Regions from separate parts of the Homo sapiens genome. Here region 2 is linked to region 1. Evidence: promoter capture Hi-C in human tissues and cell types (Jung and others, 2019). All regions are on one chromosome and are shown on one strand. The core of a region is centred on a gene start or on the middle of the fragment in contact, and the rest is flanking DNA. Distances in the headings are between cores, read along the strand shown.

What was found. Contacts are between HindIII fragments. The study calls those that stand out against the background at their distance.
Region 2: a contact is called between a fragment that was not itself captured here and the fragment with the promoter of STC1 in region 1, in 3 of the 25 tissues and cell types used here (heart right ventricle, mesendoderm cells and thymus).

What each region holds. Positions count from the first base shown.
Region 1 is chr8:23,852,167-23,857,958 of GRCh38, forward strand. It overlaps STC1 (stanniocalcin 1), which reads right to left and starts at 2,640. Exons shown (of 4, transcript NM_003155.3): 1 at 2,240-2,640; 2 at 76-218. The coding sequence starts at 2,357. The HindIII fragment of the contact is 6,962 bases long and covers 648-5,792 here.
Region 2 is chr8:24,136,414-24,142,205 of GRCh38, forward strand. All of the region lies in intron 2 of LOC107986931 (a long non-coding RNA gene), which reads left to right. Among named protein-coding and RNA genes, the nearest start is that of ADAM28, 150 kb to the right of the region's middle. The HindIII fragment of the contact is 3,882 bases long and covers 633-4,514 here.

The DNA.
Region 1 (5,792 bases), core at 1,390-3,889:
GGTTCCTAAGAACCATGGTCTAACACACTGTTAAAGACAAGCAGCCAGTGGGAGCAGGGGTCAAGGTTTTATTACCTGAGTGTCAAATTTAGCAGCGCTGTACAAGAAGGATTTACAGATGTCATACATCCCATCTGTGTCACAGGTGGAGTTTTCCAGGCATGCAAAAGCCCCGCAGCCGACCTGTAGAGCACTGTTGAGGCAACGAACCACTTCAGCTGAAAGAGACAAATCCATCCATTCTGGGTCAAACAGTGAGGAATGGCTGGGTGGGATCAAGTGGGTGCAGAGGTGAATTTCAAGGACATGAGGTCAGAAGAACTTATCCTAGGAATCTGTCATGAGGGGCAATTGATAGACCCATTTGATTGAGAAAGAGAGGATAGACAGGCTCCTTTTGTTTATGATTGCTGGAGTACATGATGGACAGGGAGGGAGTTCTCTGTTTCAGACACACGCTCCCTGTTTCACCATTACCTACAATTTTGGTGTCTGGAGAAGTGAGGCTCAAGTCTGGAAATGCACAGTGCCTTTAAGCCATTCCATAGAATCAAAGGTCATTGCTTAGCACTTGAAAGCATGGGAAGGAAGGAGACAGTGGCTAGTGGTCAGGTTTAAGAGGTAAAAGGGCCAGGGAATCCATCTAGCTTTGGAAAAATGCACTCCCGAGTAAAAAGCATGGGATTTTAGTCTAAATGGCAGAGAAGACTGTGCCAGGAGTCCACTTGGAGACCCTTCTGATTTCAGGCTTTTAACTTACCGTCATATTGGCAAAAAGAAATCTGATCCGTTCATGTTTCACCCCAACCCTCCACTAGGACAGTGCTTAGAGGTATGCATAATCTCTTTCATATTAAAAGCCTTTTAAAAAAGAAAGAAAGAAAGAAAGAAAGAAAGAAGAAACACAGGTGTGGAATAACCAGGCCAAGGCCTCCCTATGCAAGACTGGAAGAAAACCGCAAAAAACTTGCATGAGGCTTTCTACATTCTGGATAAGATCTCCCATAAAAGTAATTTTTCTCCCACAGAAGGGGGGTGTTCTGGCAGGCAGCTAGGCAAGGAATGATCTGCAGCCTTCATGCCATAGGATTCTCCTCTGAGATCAAAAGCATGGTTCAGTTAGTCTTCCCCACCCCCTCCCACCACCCGCAGCCTCTAGGATGTTACAAGTCATTTCCCTAATTATATATTTCCACGGGTTTAAATTATAACTTTGCTTTAAGCAGTTTTAATATGCATTAGGGCTGCTATTGTTTTAGGCAAGCTCGAATTGTGAATCACTGCATCTCTATAGCAACTAAGTACAAAAGGAAGTGAAGCAAAAGCCCTCCTCTCGGCAGGGACCTGTGCTCTTCCAAGGGGATCATCATCTGCAGCATTTTGACACCTGTGATCCGGTCTTTGCTGACAGTTGGAGGACAGAGGGCAGTATTGGAAGGGGAACAAGTGGAGCCAGAGAAGTCAAGAGGCAGAGGTGTCAATGCAGGCTTCCTAATGATTCTTTTCCTTCAGAAGCCAAGATAATGCACAATTAACTGCTCCAAGAGTCAAGACGAAAGTGAGACCTTACCCTTGGAGAAACAGCTGCTACGTTTCACAATTTTTTTTTTCTAGGGGCTCTCTGGCTACGGGCTGCAGGGACGACTGAATGGAGCCCTACAGAGCCAGGAGGGAGACAGGCAGCAGGGTTGGGGGTGGGATGTATAGGGTTTTCTCTGAATCCGCCCTGGATTTGTCAGACTTGAGGGCTATGGTTCTGAAAATCAGTCTGAAGAGGGAGCTTTTCTGTGTATTCTCTTAGGTAGAGAAGTCAAGAAGTGAAGAGGTAGAGTCTTAAGAGGAAAGGAAGAGGGACAGCATCAAACAAGCCAGGTCTTACCTTAGATCAGCTTCTGGAAAGTATAGAGAGCGCTTTGAAGCATGCCAACATTCAAGCCTTTCCTCCCCTCTCACCCCTCCCCCTCCAAGAGGGTACGTGCCAGATTTCAGGCAATCAGGCTAGGCTTATGCAATGAAATACCCTCAGCAGAGCGTCCAGCTTCTTCGTTTAGTTGCATGCAATTTATTAAACAAAGGAGCTCCACTGCCTAAGGCTATTGGATTACACTGGCAGTTTATTGCCATCAGGCATGAAGCACATTTATTATCAAGATCAGCCGTCACAGACACAGTTGCAAAAGGGAGAGGCAAATGAGGACAGCTCTTTGGGGGAGAAACCGCTCTTGGGTTTGCTGCTTACCTGAGTTTTGAGCCGCCACTCGGGATTTCCTGGGGCTCACAGAGTCATTCTGCTCCGCCTCATGGGTTGCAGAAGCACTGATCACCAGCACCAGAAGCACTGCTGAGTTTTGGAGCATTCTCTGAGAAGTTTCCGCTAAGTTGTTGGGTTTTTTTTTTTTCCTGCCCCCCTTTCCTCTTTCCCTCTCCTGGCTTGAGTGAAGATGTGGATCTGGATACACTGAAAGCTTAGGTGAGGATTTGATGAGGATTTTTTTTTGTTGTTGTTGCTGGTGATGCTGCTGCTGCCACCGGTGCCTCCGCTGCTGCTGCTGCTGCCGCCGCTGCTGCTGCTGCTGCCACCGCCGCTGCTGCTGCTGCTGCTGCAGTCGCTGCTTCTTGCACCTCTGGCTTTTGCAAACTGGGGGCCCAAGAGCTGCACCCAGGGATTTTATAGCCGTTCTTATCGGTCCTCAGGATCAAGGACCAATCAGGTCCCTCAACTGGTCTGGTGAGCCAATAAGAGGGCATGCAATTCAGCTGGAGCTTTTTGACTTCTTAGAAATATTTTCCAGCAAATTAAAAGTACCTGCTGCCAATGTTTTATATGTGTGTGTGACTGTGTGTGCAGAGATGTGTGAAAAAGCTATTTTCGTGGAAGTAAGAGATAACTCTGTATTGATTGAACTAAAGAAAAATCCTATAGAAATCTCTCCAAGTTGCTTTTTGAAATCTAGCCATCTTTTTTTCTAATGAGCCACTTGGGGGAAATGGATAGCAGGGGTATGGTGGGGAAATGTGATCTCTTTAGATGAGAACTTAACCTGCTTACAGCAGTTTTACTCTAATTTTAACAGCACATTCTCGGTTCTGTTTTGTAGGCTACAAATGCAATAACTCCCTATCTTCTCTGTGTGTACATGTTCACATGTCTATGATGCATTTTTGTTTGTATGTGGACATCCTGGGTTCTCACTCACACATTTGAGCCCTTGAGGGGGAATTTATGTGAGTGGAAAAGCCTTGGGGGACTGAGATATGACAGCTCAGAGCTGAAGCCTTAGTCCCCCTACTGATCAACCTATGACTCTGGCTAAGTCTTTTTACCTTGCCCCACCTCGTTTTCCCATCTGTAAAACGCCAAAGTTGGACTCTGACATTCTGTATACCTCTAAAATAATGTGATTCTTCAATAATCAAATCAACTTTGACTTCATCTTTTCAGTCACCAGCAAAATTGCATAGTCCAGGAGTGTTAGTTACCCCAGGTACACATGTGCACACCTGCACATACCACACTCAACAGGGAGACATCATGAATGCCTGAAAATTAATAATCTGTGTTCAAGCCCAGCAACTTTATAACCACTTTGAAACAATAAGCTGGCCAAAGCAAGACTAAACCTGCTGAATGGAAACCAGTTCATTTCTTGGGGAGAGGGGTAGGAAAAAAGGGGGCAGAATGGAAAGAAGGGGTAGAGAAAGACCAGAATGTGTAGGAGAGAAGAATGATAAGCTCTAGACTTAATAGGAAAATTGCACTGCAATCACAAATCATGCCTGGTATAGAAACTTATATTTTCTTATAAGTGAGTTGTAGGCAATGCTGAGGTTTGTCCCCAACATGTGAAGGAGGTTAATGAGCCAGAAGAGGACTTCTTAGGGTAGGAAGGTGGTGAAGGTATTATACAATAAAACCTTTAATAATTTTGGGGAAGTAGATGAGAAATGGCCACTGGTGATTCATACAGATTTGGGCAGGATAATCTTGCAGAGAAATGGGGCCAGTGGCTTTACTTTGCATCCTAAAACCTTCAAACAAAAGTTGAAGAAAGAGTGCCACCCCTGTTAACCACAAACTAAACCAAGTGTCAGCTCTGTGTATGTTGTGGGGTGATAGGGTGGTGGGGGGCGGGGGGGGGGGGGCGGCGGACGGTTCTGGGTGATGATAGCCTATCCCTCACAAAATAGGGTTGTTTGGTAAGTATGAAAGTTTGCTAGAAAAAGGAATAGAAGGAATAAAGGATACAGGAAATATCTAAAAGAAAGGAAGGGAATTTTCAGATTTACATTATATAACAAGAATACATTTTAATTTATATTAACAGGCAGTATTGGTATTTCTTTAGAACCTTCTGGGCTGAGTGCTAGGGGACAATGTGGGAGGATAAATGAGAAGACATAGAGAAGAAGGTAAGTTCATTATTCTTGTCCTGAAGGTACTTACAGGTGAGTTGGGAAGATGACCAGCCACAGTCATACTTCCTAAAGGTTCGGGATGTCAGGACCTCATATAGTAAGACACAGGCTCAGGCAGCACTGGCTGGAGATGGGGGGAAAGCTCTTGAGGGAAAGATCAGTGGGGAAAGATGTAAACTGCTGTTGTTGCTTTTTAAGAATTTAGGAAAAGCTATGCTATTTCATTTTTAAAAAACAAAGCTTGTATTGTGGAAAGCTTCAAGGTTATTTGTATTGCTTTAGTTAGAAGTAGTAGATGCCAGGCAAGGCAATAGAATTTCTCAGTGCTCTCTTCCAGAAAGGGAGTAAGAGGACAGATGCGTATTCCTCCCAAGGGTCTTGACTTCTGTTCTTTAGCATTCTCTACCTCCTTGGCCATTATTCATCATCTAAGGCAGTGCCATTTGTTTCTCTTGGGCTTTCCCTGAGTTGGTCTGCTTGGCTTGGTAGGGTGATGATTTACCACCAGCCATCTACTTTGTTTTTCCAACTCTCCGTTGCTCTCACCAGAACACGATGTCCTACAAGCATCAAGATGTGTTTGTGTTTTTTTTTTCTGATGTTGATTTATTATTCCTTCTTATTTTGCTCACTTACTATCTTGTGCCTGGAAGTTCATTGCTAGGTGTGCCAAGTGTTTCCCAATAACAGGTAAACTGTCCTTTGAAGAAATACAATAGTGGTCAGCCCATTGATTTGAATGTAACTAGTATGCATGCCAATGCATTTGAGAACCTTAGGGGAAGGAGCTGAAGTCTACATGAAATGCCCAGTGTAAAATTTCTGCCTAGAATGTCATGGTATGTGGATATCCAAGTGCCCTCAATCATTGTGCAACTGTCTGGAACTGTGATATAGCAAGATAAAAGGGTCTTGGGGGCCCTGGTGGTGATGTCTGGTTTCTTTGTAACTTCTCTTGGGGGTCTGAGAGAATATGGAGGAGTTTGCTTAGCGCTCTTCACAGTCTGAGTTTTATCCTGTAAGGAACAGGAAGTTATTCGGGCTCTTGAGTAGGAATTGTTAAATGATGGGTGGAAATAAGTGTTTAGGCAAGATTATTTCATCATACTTATGATGGTTTGGAGGAAGAAAAGAACAGAAGTTTTAAGACTTGTTAATAACAGAATTTTGTTGATGAGATTCTGGCCTACAATGGTTGTGGCAGGAAAGGAAGGGAGACAAATATGAGAGATGTTTTAAATGAACTGGAAATTATTAATTAACCTAAGGATTGTCTTGGGAAAAACCTTTCTCCCAGTTTAGTGGTAATGGAGATAATACACATGAGGACTTTTCCCTCCTTATATTTTAGTTATGACTTTTAGTTGACAGGACTA
Region 2 (5,792 bases), core at 1,324-3,823, 280 kb after region 1:
TTTATAGGACAAGAACAGGGCAAGTCCAAGCTGTCGTTGATCTTCCAAGACTGGGACTATAGGAGGGCTGATTAAATGCTATTACTGATAATAATCAGAGAGAATTCAGAGTAAATGGCCCTGTGCTTTCAAATGTAATGCAGATAAAAACTAAATGCTTAAGTGATTTTTTACCATTAACACAGTCATGGCAGGCTATTTCAAAAGCTACTAGTTGTCCTGTTGTAGAAGCCTTTCTCCTAAGACATGGCAAGAGGTAGAATAGATTTTTTAATCCTCCACTTATGTTTCTTTTAACCTGGACCGGAGTAACTTACCCAGGCTTGGATGTCTTCCTCATATTGGTTTCTTACAAACTACAAACCTTATGTAACCAATGATCTGCAAAAGATAGACTTGTTCCTGCAATCTATTTTTCTTTGTTGCCTTGGAAATAGATTAATATCTAAGGGAGGTAAAAACTTTCTTAGAACTGATTTCTCTTTTTTTGAGTCAAGAGAGATAAATAGGATGGAAAACTATAATGCCATATGTAGAGGCATTCAAGTTCAAGAATTCCTTGAACTTTACTTAAAACTTGATTGAATGTGAGCTCTACGTGGAGAGGTGTCTTTGCTTTGTTCACACTGATAACTCAAGCATCTAGAACCGTGCCTTCTACACAGCAGATGCTCGATTATACAAACCCTTGAATCTTCAACAGCCTAGTGTGATCTTCCTCAGGGACATGACAAAATGCGACATGGACTTACAGTGGAAATTAATCATCTAGAGGGAATTTATGAAGCACTTACATGTGCTCATTCTACACCATTAAAAATGTTTGTTGCAAGGAAAGGCATTGAGATTGCTTTTGGGTAAAATAGGAAATAGGAATATTTTCACTTCTGAATTCCTTTCTTGTGCTTCCTTATGAAGTAATTGTCCTTTGCTTATCATCCCTTCTCCAACCCATATCCCACCATTTATTCTTGTTCCAGGAAGACATAGCTCAATCACATACTACATCATGCTGTGAAATTATGGTACAAGGATAAAGAATAGAAATGTCTAACTAAGTAGGTCTAAATAAGTACATATTTTTTAGGGCAACGTTTTTCTAACTTTGTTACTACTGACATTTTAGACCAGATAATTCTGAGAGGTCCATCATGTGCATAGAAGAATGTTCAGCAACATCTCTGGCTTTCACCTACTAGATGCTAGTACCACCTGTATTTTGTCCACTTCCTCTTACCCTGTTGTAATAATGAAAAATGTCTCCAGACATTGGTCCTCTGGGGGAGAGGGAGAAAAATATCCTTTTGGTTGAGGACCACTGCTTTAGAGATATGTTTGGTTTCTCCAAGGGTATTTATCATTATCAAGCTGAATATCCTGCTAAAGGAATTTCAGAGAACTGCAGTACATATAATTGAGAGGAATTTGTTAGGAGGTCTTTTGAAATGCCCTTTAAGGTGACTGTTCACTTAATTTACCTTTGTGAATAGCTGTAATACAAAGACTCTTTCACTCTTGGACCTGAGGTTGGGGTTGAGTAAATCAAGCGTCTATGGGTTATCTGAGGACTCTTTTGATTGTATATATGGGACTAGACCTTAACTTCATATCCATCCCGAGTGACCTTACCTCATTTTTAAGCTTGTTGGAACACAACATGTTTCTATTCTTAATGATGACATAATGATGATGTTCAGATTATGATATCACCATGATAATTATAATAATGGAATAATATTGATGAATGCTTTATATGTGCCAGCCACTGTGTTAAGTGCTTGATATGGAAATAATTCACATAATTCTCTCAACAACACTGTGATGAATGATGACAACAATTGTGTTGTATAGCAGATAAAGGAGATTATATGCTAATTGTGATCATTATTAATAGCTGACTGCAGAAAATATGTTCCTGAACAACTGATATGGGTAGAACACACTGGTAAGTAAAAGAAAATGTGTCATATTCTGGCTGTCTTTAGTTTGTTGTGTTATTCATCTTTCTGCCTTGTAATTATTTGTATACAAGTATGTCTGTCTTCACTAGACTCTTAAACCACTTGTGAGGGTCTGACTTATTGCCTTTGCTATCCCCAGTACTTACCACGTAACAAGCACTTCAATGTGTATTGAATATGTAAAGGAATGAATAAGAGAATGGAGGCTGTGCTGTGTTAAAGAGGACAGCACAAGCGAAGGAAGCTCTGCTTGTCACTTCCAGATTACTTGATTCAGCCATCAGGACTCTAAAAATACTCTCTTCCACACCTCTTGTTGTGGGGATAAGAAGGTCTTAAAGGCTTACTATATAATGCTATACTTGTGGGTCAAAATAAAAAAGAGAGTAACATTTTTGGATCACATATTATGTGTGAAGCCCATTCTCAGATGTCATTTTATTCTTACATGGACCTGGATAGGTGGGTATTATTTCTATCATTTTGAAAATTAAACAACTAAGGCTCAAAAATGCTATTAAATTTATTTTCTTTCAGATTGATCACTATCCTTACTGGAGATAGCACTTTACTGAATTCTTTATTTATGATGCAAGATGCACATTGATCTGACCTGTATCCTCCCCCAGAAAACTCTGTCCTAAAAAATGAGTGCACATTCCAATGTGTGAACTGAATTTCATTATTCTCTTTCCCTTTAACTTACTGTGGCATTCTGGTGTCTCATTTTTTTCATTCTTAAATGAACATTGTTCATTTCTGCCATCAGACCGTGTCAGCGACTACTTTGAAATCCTTAAATGAAAGACCCTACATAAACAACAAATATGGTATTCCAGTGACAGTAAGCAATCAAAAGAAAGTAACTTGGGGCTAAAGTGTCAAGTTTAATCCTTTGCATTCTTTTATCTCCAAGCAGAACCAGGGCGAGTGCATCTCTCCCCAAACTTCCCGAGAACCACACACTAAAGAATTGGGAATTCTGTTTAGTTCTACTGAAGAGTTAAGCAAATCACACCAGTACTCCAGCACATGGCTCCAAGGAGTCTAGGTACATCAAACAAGATGTTCAGACCACTGAGCCATGCCCTCCAGCTGTCCTAGGAAAACATTTCTTAGACTAAAAATGAACATCTCGCTTGTCATCATTGGGCATCATGTAGCTTCCAGGAAAGCAAAGGCTGGTACTTCTTTTAATTTGTTTTGCTGTTGTTAAACTTTGTTCATTCTTGTGGTCTACTTTATTTGTGTGTGAGAGAGGCTTAAAAAAATGTATGTTTTCACTTTATCTCTCTTTTGGTATTTATTTTCTTGGGCACAATCTTATTTAAGGACAATGGGGGATTGCCCAATGGTCAGTAGAGTCATGAGACTGCTATCTAATTTTCCAGTAGGAGGATAAGGTTCAGTAACTCTTTCCTTCTGAAAACTGCCAACCTGTGGAAATTTCCAGTCCCAGTTTTTAGGTGTTATCTTTAATTTTGTGCAAAATATCATTTTGGCCCTTTGATGTTCCAGAACACCTCTACCTTCTGCTATTTCACCCTGTGTGTTGATTGAGACTTTACCAGTATAAAGATGTAACAGCTGGAGTACAGTATTAATAAAAAACAGAAAAAACATCTGAATTCGCTTAAGCCTTTGGACATCTGCCTCTTCCCTTGTGTCTAATCTAGTATGCATGCATGAGTTCTGGGTACCAGGTTAGAGAATAAAATGTCCTAGGACATTGGTGTCTAAAATATTTTCCTTCTTCATGGTATCAGAAAAGATGAAATCATTCAAAAAGCATTTTTCCCTCTGTCGACTATCAACTGTGCAATAGGAATTAGGTTAAGTTCTGAACCAGCGCTTTGGTAAAGCAAATGCCCAATCCGATTCATAGCGTTGGTGACATTCCTTCCCCTAACCCTCTTTGATGGCAGTTTTGACAATGGAAACATTAGAAATATGCACTATTGCGTAAAAAGCTTTTTTATCTTGGGACCAAAAGAAATGCTTTTATGGTTATAAATACACTGAAAGAAACCTCAAGAAAACCTGGAGCAAATTAGTCAATTGCTGTCAAAATGACAGAGGCTGGTATACTTGCCTTCTTACTGTCACTCCCTGGCTGCAACCCTCTGAGTTTCTTTCTAATAGCTTTCCTCCACTTAACCTACAGTATTCACTATATTTTTATTTTTGGATATTAGGCATTCTTTACTTTTATCCTTTGACATTGCTAGCTGAATATTTGGACAAAGATAATTTTTGCCCCAAAATGATATAAAGAGGGGAAGTATACCATTGCCATTTAAATCCTAGTCTTCTCTGAAAGTAAAACTGAGTGTCAATAGTATTCTCTTTAAAGACATAAAAAATCCCTGCACATAAAATCTGCTTTGCATCATCTTGAATCTTTGAATATCTGTGGTCTCCTATCAGTTCACAAAATACACACTTGTTCTGGTATTGAAGACCCAGGAAACCACCTTCTGTTTCCAAACTGGGTGACATTGAAATTCTTTCCCCTTGCCTACTCATCTGAAATTAAAGTTTTGGAAGTTACTGGTGGCCTGACAGTGCCCATGTGGGGCAATTAATAATAGAAGACAAATACCTTTAAGGAACGCTTGCTCAAAACAACTTGGTTCCAGCCAAACATTTTGAGGGACAGGAGAAGTCCTGGGGCTGCACATGAGTCCAACAACATATTTTCCTGGTTGCTTGCCCTCTCACATGGCTCAGTCTGCCTTCCACTGTTCTTATATTCTTTCTTTAGACCATACTCAAATGCATGGGCTTTTGGTCAGCATCATGATTCAGAGATGTTCTAAACACCAAAAACCTTAAAAATAATCAAACATATAATGGGTAATAGTACATTTCAATGAAAACATAAAAGTTTAATAAACAAGTTTTCCTGCTGAAACTTGTCTTTCCTTCTTGCTTCCTTTGGCCGTTATCTCCTTCCTTAAACATTTATTGGCTCCACTTTCTCTCTTCTTTTTTATATTGATTCTTACAAGAATCTGAGATATGCCATTATTTTGATATGGATATTTTAGATGAAAAAACTGTTCTTGTTGGGGGCTTGTGACTTTTGCATCTTGTCATTGATTGACATTAAGATTTATTAGGGCTTTAGCAACAAGCTTACCCTTTAGGTTTCTTTATTAATACTAAGAAGGTCTTAACTATAATCTTATCTGGGGTATTATGCTATGTAAAGCCCAGAACACAGAGCAATTTAATAGGACCCATTGCCGCAATATGAGCATAATTACGTTCACAGAGGCACTTCAACATGACCTAGTAGGGATAGAAGTTGGATTGAGAATTATAGCCCAACTCTTCTTGCTCTTAGTTACTCATTCAAGAAGTATTTATTGAAAAGATAGCCCTATGTGGCCATATCTTAGAGCAAGTCCTTATGTACACATAAGAATCACGTAGAAACTGTCAAATCTCCTAGACTAGATCCATGGGATATGCAAAAATGCAAAGACCACATCATATCATCTCCTACCATTGTCAAACGAGAAGATGACATGAAATTCAAAATATCAGTACTCTTCGTGTCAAGCCTATCTGAATGAATTTGGGGGGGATATAAAAAATTAGTTTAACCAAGTAGAAAACACAGGGAAAATCCAGAATTCTTTATATATTGTGAAATTACATTGTCATTCAAGAGTAATGAAGAGATCAATATTGTGATTATGGGTCTGAGGATCCATGTGCCTACCGAAAGGCAAAAATGCTGAAGAGACTTTAATCTCTGAATGTGAAGAAAGTTTAGACTCAAGAATATGGATATACAAAGATAGCAGTTATATTTATATGAAT